Regions from separate parts of the Homo sapiens genome. Here region 1 is linked to region 2. Evidence: promoter capture Hi-C in 16 types of primary human blood cells and fetal thymus (Javierre and others, 2016). All regions are on one chromosome and are shown on one strand. The core of a region is centred on a gene start or on the middle of the fragment in contact, and the rest is flanking DNA. Distances in the headings are between cores, read along the strand shown. Region 1 overlaps TRAPPC3L (trafficking protein particle complex subunit 3L). Region 2 holds the start of CALHM6 (calcium homeostasis modulator family member 6).

The links. The method cuts DNA at HindIII sites, captures the fragments that hold promoters and counts their contacts. A CHiCAGO score of 5 or more calls a contact.
Region 1: a fragment that was not itself captured here is called in contact with the fragment with the promoter of CALHM6 in region 2 in 10 of 17 cell types (total B cells, naive B cells, neutrophils and 7 more); the score reaches 15.0 in total B cells.

What each region holds. Positions count from the first base shown.
Region 1 is chr6:116,495,718-116,499,551 of GRCh38, reverse strand. TRAPPC3L (trafficking protein particle complex subunit 3L) reads left to right here. Exons shown (of 5, transcript NM_001139444.3): 5 at 2,479-3,834. The coding sequence ends at 2,598. Among named protein-coding and RNA genes, the nearest start is that of CALHM5, 14 kb to the left of the region's middle. The HindIII fragment of the contact is 1,224 bases long and covers 1,003-2,226 here.
Region 2 is chr6:116,458,943-116,462,624 of GRCh38, reverse strand. CALHM6 (calcium homeostasis modulator family member 6) reads right to left here and starts at 1,250. Exons shown (of 3, transcript NM_001010919.3): 1 at 1,196-1,250; 2 at 171-753. The coding sequence starts at 695. CALHM6-AS1 (CALHM6 antisense RNA 1) reads left to right here. Exons shown (of 2, transcript NR_174951.1): 2 at 1,431-2,147. RefSeq lists a silencer at 185-264 and enhancers at 645-724, 735-844. The HindIII fragment of the contact is 9,761 bases long and covers 1-3,682 here.

The DNA.
Region 1 (3,834 bases), core at 365-2,864, 37 kb before region 2:
ATTCTTTACAGAAGCCTGATTTTAAGAAAAGGGATTCATATGACAAGCTTGGAAATTCAGATTTTTATATTGAAAGCAACAGAAATCAATATAGGTTTATAAACAGTAGAATAATATTTTGAAATTTGTGTTTTAGGAATTTCATTTCTTTATCAACCAAATGAAAGTATATCAGAGGGAACAATGCTGAAGGAAAGGATTAGGGCACTTTGGAAGTTATGATGGTAACCTCAGGTAAAACGAGAACAAAACCCTGACTGCAGGAATGGGGAGAGGAAGACCATTTGAACAACATCAAAAAGATGGAACAGGTTATGGACTAGGTTATGAACTGGCTGAAAGGAATGAAATTGAGAAAAAGATTCAAGAATGATTTGTAAGTTTCTGAGAAACCTGTAGAGATGGTTGTACTATTAAACCAAGAGGAACAAAACCAAGAGGAGTACATCTGGGCTTGGTAGAGACAAAGTGAGGAGTTCGATTTTGAGCCTGCTGGAGTTGAGGTGTTTAACACATGCAAGTGAGGCTATCCAGCAAGCAGTTGTTTATCCCTGTCTGGAGATCACAGAGAGACATGGATTGAAGAAGCATTAGAATAGGAAAAGAATGCCTAGGCAGAGTCTGTAGAGCAAGAATAAAAGGGAGTAACAGAACCATAGGAAGCAATAAAATATAATAAGTAGGTTAAACAGAGGGCACAAAGGCTGAAAAGGATACCAAGAAAAAGAAATCAGAGGTAGGAAAAGAAGGAGTCATAGAAACAAGAGAGGAGATCATTTCAAGAGGACAGACTGATTAATAAGAACAAGTACAGCAAAGAGTCTAAGTTAAACCGGACCTGAAAAATATTCACAACATTTAGGAACCAAAAGACCCAGAAGGGCCTTGGTAAAAGCTCCTTTGGGAAAGTGGAGGAAAAGAAGACAATCTGTCATAGATTGGTGAGCCAACAACAGCTTAAGAAGAGGTAACAGTCAACAAAGTCTCATTTTCCCAGAAGCTTAGCTATTAAGAATGGTGGAACCAGATAGCAACCAAAGTCTTGCCATGTATTGAGCTACCTAATAATGAGGCATGCATGTAATTTTAAATTATTTGTGATAATTAGGGGAAAATAGAATAACAAGTAATCCAAAAGCATAAAACAATAGAAATAATGTATTGTTCACACAGATTCTCCATGCGTCTACCCTAGCATCTTTTTAGACTTGTCCTGTAGTCGGTGGCCATGAGATCAAGGAAGAGGTGGGAAAGCATTATAAGTGTTTATGGGCAAAGGGAAAAACCATAAAACCAAGCCAATAATAGGATAAGAATGTCTTCCACTCTCATAAATAGCAGTTGATTATATTTGCTGAATGACAGCTGGTATCAGACCTCATGTGTCCCCAAATATCCAAATAGCTTCAACATTGTCTCCCTGTTAATTTAATTTATGTTCTGTTAAATTTTGACAAAGACTTAAAAAGTCTTATGGAAGAAAAAGTTGAGGATGAATGTTGCTTCTGTATTTCCAAGTGCAATCTACATCCTCTGTTAAATGGTAGGCATTGCAAGGCCGGGCCCAGTATGAGCCAGATAATTTGGTACACTAATGGTTTAACAAATTGAGGCTGGCTAGCTAAGGAATTCTTAGTGAGAGAGGGGACTGAGTTAGGTAAGATTCAATAAACATCAATTAATTGCCTGCTACATGTGGGCATTTTTCACATATTATTTGCTTTTACTAGGTGCTTTTACTTATTTATCTTATTTTTCCCAATAAATCAAAATAACTCTGAACAAATACACTATTGGGGGTAGGTCAGCAATATCATGCTGCTCTTATGTGGACACATTTTAATGAATAAAGAAGTAAGCCCTGCTTACTTCAGTGCCTGGGAAATGGGAAATACCTTACAGAGAAAAAGAAGGCCTGAGTATCAAATATTCATGTCTGTAAATTCAATCTTTAATTTTATATCTATAATTCATTTAATTGATATTATTCTCAAAGCTCTCAAAGCCATAAGTGACTGCTAAATGTTGTTAGGATAAGTGATTATGTTATTCAGCTAATGACAGAATGATTTATGGCAAATCTGTTTGAGAGCAATCATTTAAGAATCCATTTATTCTTGGAAATTCTGCTGGCTAAGCACAGTGGGTCAAGGCTATCCCCGAGCTGGGAATTTGTGTTCTTCTGAAGATGGATCCAGAGTTCAGCCTTGCACATTGAGCTAAGCTTGGCAGAGGCTGGGTGTCCCAGTCATCCTAGTTGGCCTGGACCACCCTCCTCTTTGCAGATTCACACCACAGAGCTGACACACAGCTGGACCATCTCCGGAGGACACTCAGTAAAGGGCCCTTTATCCACGAACAAGCTTTTTTAAAAATCATTTCTTAAGGAAAGTAAAGAAAGCTGAAAAAAGACTGAGAAAATTTAGTTTTTTGTTTTTTAATTGAATGACACAGGCCTGTTTTTTTCTTCTTTCCTAGGTTCATTTGGCGGCTGATGTTACATTCTTGCAAGACAGACTAAAAGGTGACAGTGTGACAGAAATAGGAATAACATTTCTAAAAAAGCGAGACGAGAAAAAATATAGAGGGAAAAAATGAAGACTAGCACGGAAAATGCCACGGGGCGGCTAGCTGAGTTAATGTTAGCTAAACATGTATAGACATAGAAATTTTGAATTGCTTCATAGCATGAGCTTTGAAAGGTTTATAAATCAGCCAGAAATTTGAAATGCAGGGCATGAAGGCTTAAAGGTTTTTTTTTCCTTTTGCTTATAAATCACGCATTTTCAATCTCATGTCCACAAAATTTCATATGCAAATAGCTCCTTACAAGATAGCAGGCAGGAATTCCACATCTTACACTATCCATCCTCAGAGAAGCTGTTCATTCCATTCACGTATGGTAATGGGAAAAAAAAGCAGCACAAATACAAACAGTTGTGTATTTGTCTCTTTGCTGAAAAAAAAAGAATGAAATGATATAGCATAGAGTTTCCTATATATAGACAGTAGTTTCTAGATACTGTATATTGCATTCCTTAAATAAATAATTCCATATTTCTAAAAAAATATGATTTGATTTTTCTCATGTATTAGCTTGGCTTATAGCTTTAGCCTTCTGACGCTACCCTTGATTTGTAATCACCAAGTCAAGCTATTTATTCAATGATAATTTTGAAACATTTATAAATAACATTTAATTTTAATTTATTTAGTTTTAATATAGCTGGCATCAACCAAATTCCTTCCTTTTCTCATGAAATATTGCTTGATGGTCAGGCCAGGAAACTTCTAAAATAAAGGATAAATAATATTCTTTGAAATTACTTTCTTACCCCAAAGCTTATTAATTCAGAATTTCTACTATCATTTTCATCCTCTAAAAAATCTTCCAAAGGATGTTTTCTTTGTGACCAGAACACATTTAAAATTCAAGTGTACCGAATTAAATACACAGTAATCTTCACCAGACCACTGGCACACAAGGGCGGCCTACAAGGCAGCCCAGAATCTACTGGGCTCTGCAGAGAGCCCAAATTGCAAGTACAAGTTATAATTAGTGTGATACCACCCTACGGAATTGGAGAAAATATTTGTAAACTATGTATCTGACACCCTTGTGCTATTAATAACCAGAATATATAAGGAGTTCAACCAACTCCATAGGAAAAAATTAAAATTAATAATCCAATTAAAGATGGGCAAAAGATCTGAATAGACATTTCTCAAAAGAAGACATACACATACAAATGGCAAACAGGTATATGAAAAGGTGCTCAACATCATTGGTCATCAGAGAAATGCAAATCAAAACTATAATGAGATATTATCTCA
Region 2 (3,682 bases), core at 1-2,500:
TTTTATTCAGATATTCTCTTGACGGCAAATTAGATGCAAGGAGCCATTCTAGATTTTCTTAGGGTACTGTATATCTGGAGAAAAGTCACCGATTTTTCCCTCACCCCAGCGGCCCTGAGAAAGCTCGGCCTCTCGGCTCCTCCCAAACGCCCCCAGCGCCAGCGGCAGACCTGCGACTGAGCCTTCAGATCCTTCAGGAGGTCCTGCACGTCCGACGCCTTGGCCTGGTTGCACGGCACCAGCGGCAGCTCCGCGGCGCAGCTGCGGTTGCGGCCGAGGCACAGGCGCTGCGCGAAGGCCGCGCTCCCGGTGGCCGCGCACTCGTAAAAGGCGCCCCCGAGCAGCGCCACGGCCACCCAGGTGAGGGGCGCGAGCGCGGCGGCCGCGCTGATTTGCGTGCACACCAGGGAGCCGCGCAGCGCCGATCCGCAACTCGCGCGGGCGCTGGAGCAGCATCCGGTGAGCAGGCGCCACGTGCGTGCGCTCAGCACGTAGCCCAGGAGGAAGAGCGCGAGCGCCGGCACCAGCAAGAAGACCAGGCCGTAGGGCAGGTTCCAGGCGGCGCTGCACGGGCACTGGAATGCCACGGCGGAGAAGATGCGCTCCCCGCCCGCCGTCAGCAGGGTCACCAGGCCGTAGCCCAAGGCGCTGTGGTGCTTGACGTGCAGGTCCAGCACCGCCCGAAACTTCTCCATGAGCCTCGTCCCCCGGGGCGTCGCGCACAGGCCCAGATCCTTCTGCCTCTTCGTTGTCCTGCTTGTCAAATGGTTTTGGTGGGATGGGGACCGGGGCTTTCCACTCTGCGAGAAGCAGCCTTTTTTTTTTTTTTTTTAAAGGGAAGAGGGCTTCTCAGACCTTCCTAAAGTTTCACTTTCTCATTTCAGCCACACCACCTCTGGTTAACAGAACCAGGCAAGCAAACACCCCCAGGACCTTGACTTCTCTGGCACCCACCCCATTCCAAAGGCAGAGGCACCAGTTATCTTCCTCCCCCAATTCAGGAACTCTGACAGAAGGTTGACCTTGTTCCTTTATTACCACCAATCTGACAACGAACCAGGAAACTAACCTTCTTGACCCACGGCCGCCAGTTGGAAAAACTGGGAAATACCAGATTTTCCTCTATTGCAGCCACCCTAGTTACTAAGCCAGATCACAGTAAAACCAAATAATTATCAAAAAACTGATTACTTACGGGAAACATTATTCAAGGACAAATTTCTGGTTCCTCTTCCATAAGCTAAATCAGCAAAGTCCAGCTCAAGTTCTGGTACTTCTATGATGGGCGGCACCCTTTCCATCTCCCTACCGGACAGAGCCACCAGCCTAGTTCACACTGACTCTTCTCTCCTCTGCCTGATCTCCTTCAGGACATTAGACCAAATATACTGTATTGATTTACTCGTCAATACAATGTTCTTTTCTTTCAGATATGTCATAACACTGTCAATGCCTGGAGGAGAGTAAAATTCTGACTCTGACCACCAAGCTGATCTGCACAGAAGGGGATACATGATTATTCAAAGAATGCTAGTTGAACCCAAAATTTCAAACTGCAGCTACATCTATCTAATGTTGTTTCCTCCACCTTCAGTTTTCTCAAGCAGCGTTGTTCTGACACAAACACTGTAACCACTTTTGTGATATTGAGCCTTACTCTGTGTGACTCCAGACTGAGCTGAGGTGTGCTTGAAAGAACATGGGCTTTGAAGTCAAGTGCATCTTGTCTGTGGTGTGTTTAACAAGTATGCCCCTCTGAGACACAGCATCCTTATTTGTAAAAGAAGGATAATAGTGCCCACTTTTCAAGATTACTGACATGAGTAGATTGAGTAGCATATGTAAAGTGCCTTTACATATAGGATATGTCTGTTAAATGAATGATCAGTGTGAGAGTTTTCCCCTTAAAATGCAATTTGGGGAATAGACAACAAATAATTACATTGTACATAACCTAAGAATCTTGATGAATACTGAATTTTGAATTTTAAACGAGGATCAATTCAGTGGATAGTATTAAGTGACTCAATGACTCTGCTACCTTAAGAGAATTGGTGTACACCTTAGCTGTCTGCTTCACCACAAGGAGAGTATCTGGATATGGAGCTTGGGTGGGCAGTTCACAATGAAATGGTTCTTATTGGTGCCCATCCACCAGGCTTGCCTTATTTTATCTGGAAAGAATAGGTAGCCCATGGAACCAAGTGAATTTTTAGAGAATGGACAAGAAATGTATTATTCTTTTCTTAGTCCAACTTGCCTTCTTAACTACTCCCTCTCCAACACCACCAGCAGGGTGCCTAGCGTAGTGCCAAAAGCTGTCATTCCATAGTGATGTGGTAAATAGACATCTTTTTTCTATGTGTTTAGGGGCCAGCCCCAGATGAGGGTCTTCATGGTCATGCAGGAAAGTTGGGGCCCTCTTCTCTGAGATTAGACCAGATACTGCTAGGCTTCCTGTCAACTTGCAGCAAAGTTGCGTGTTTGAAGCGAATCACTTCTGCTCTGACTGTTATCTTTGTAATTTGTCATCTCCCAAGATAAATTTCTTCCCCTGTGCCTTGAGTAACTCTCCTCTTACTGCTGGACTCTTCTTCACCTCTACCATAATACTCTAAGATGTGTCCTCTCTCGTCCACCCTTTCCCATATTCCATCATGCAGAAACATCACTATATCCACAACCTTTGTGCAGATGGCTTTATCCAAATCTCCCCTAACCGAAACCTAATAAAAATGCATCCTTCTGTCTTCTTGAGTGAGATTAATTTATTCTCCCACATCTCTCAAACCAAGAGGGATGGCTGGCATTTTCCTGGTTACCTGCTGATAGCCATACCAGGGTTTTACCACTGTGCTATAATAGTTTATCATCCACTGAGGCTCAATCTAATCAGCACCATCTCCTCCTTCACCTCATTCCTATGGTCTGTTTTCATTCCCTTCATTTTTTAAGACTCTAATGAAGTCCATCACCTTCTCTTCCCTGGCTTCTGTTATTTAGTCAAGGATTTGTTTGAAATATGTTTACTTACAGAAACTTTTATCTATCAGCCCCCTTCCCCAACTAGATTAATTCATTTGTTAACCAGTTATTAATTAGTTCATTTGTTCATTCAGTCATTCATTTAAATGTTTAATAAGTACTCAGAATATGTCAAGTACCTATCAAAAGTGCCTGGTATTGCTGGATACAACAAGGAAGAAGACACAGGTATCCTGCCGTCTTTGAACTTACAGTAGAGATGATATAGGAAATGGAGAGGAGGGGTCCTAAAGATTACGCACAGGATAAATTGGAGTTAGAGAGTGTCCTGAAAGAGCCTCTGTGAGAAACTGACATTTAATCTGAATGAGTCTGGAGTACAAAGGAGCTTGGTTAGAAAGAAGGCTAGAGTGATGGGAGCATTGAGAATGACAGGCAAGTTGGCACATCATGAGGCCAAAGCTGCAAGTGGAAGGTCAGGTTTAGGTGCTTCACAGACCAGAATATGTAGTCTGCAATTCTGCCTCTGAAACTTTCACAGACTGAGCTGCATCCTGACATATTGTCTTGTCAGCTTGTGTCTCTAAACACCACCTCCTGGGTTTGCTACTTCTGTGCTCTCCCAAACCCAACTCTCCCAGATGCAATGATCATTCAGAACTTAGTACAGGTTTCTATAATTGAGAGTCCAGGTTTT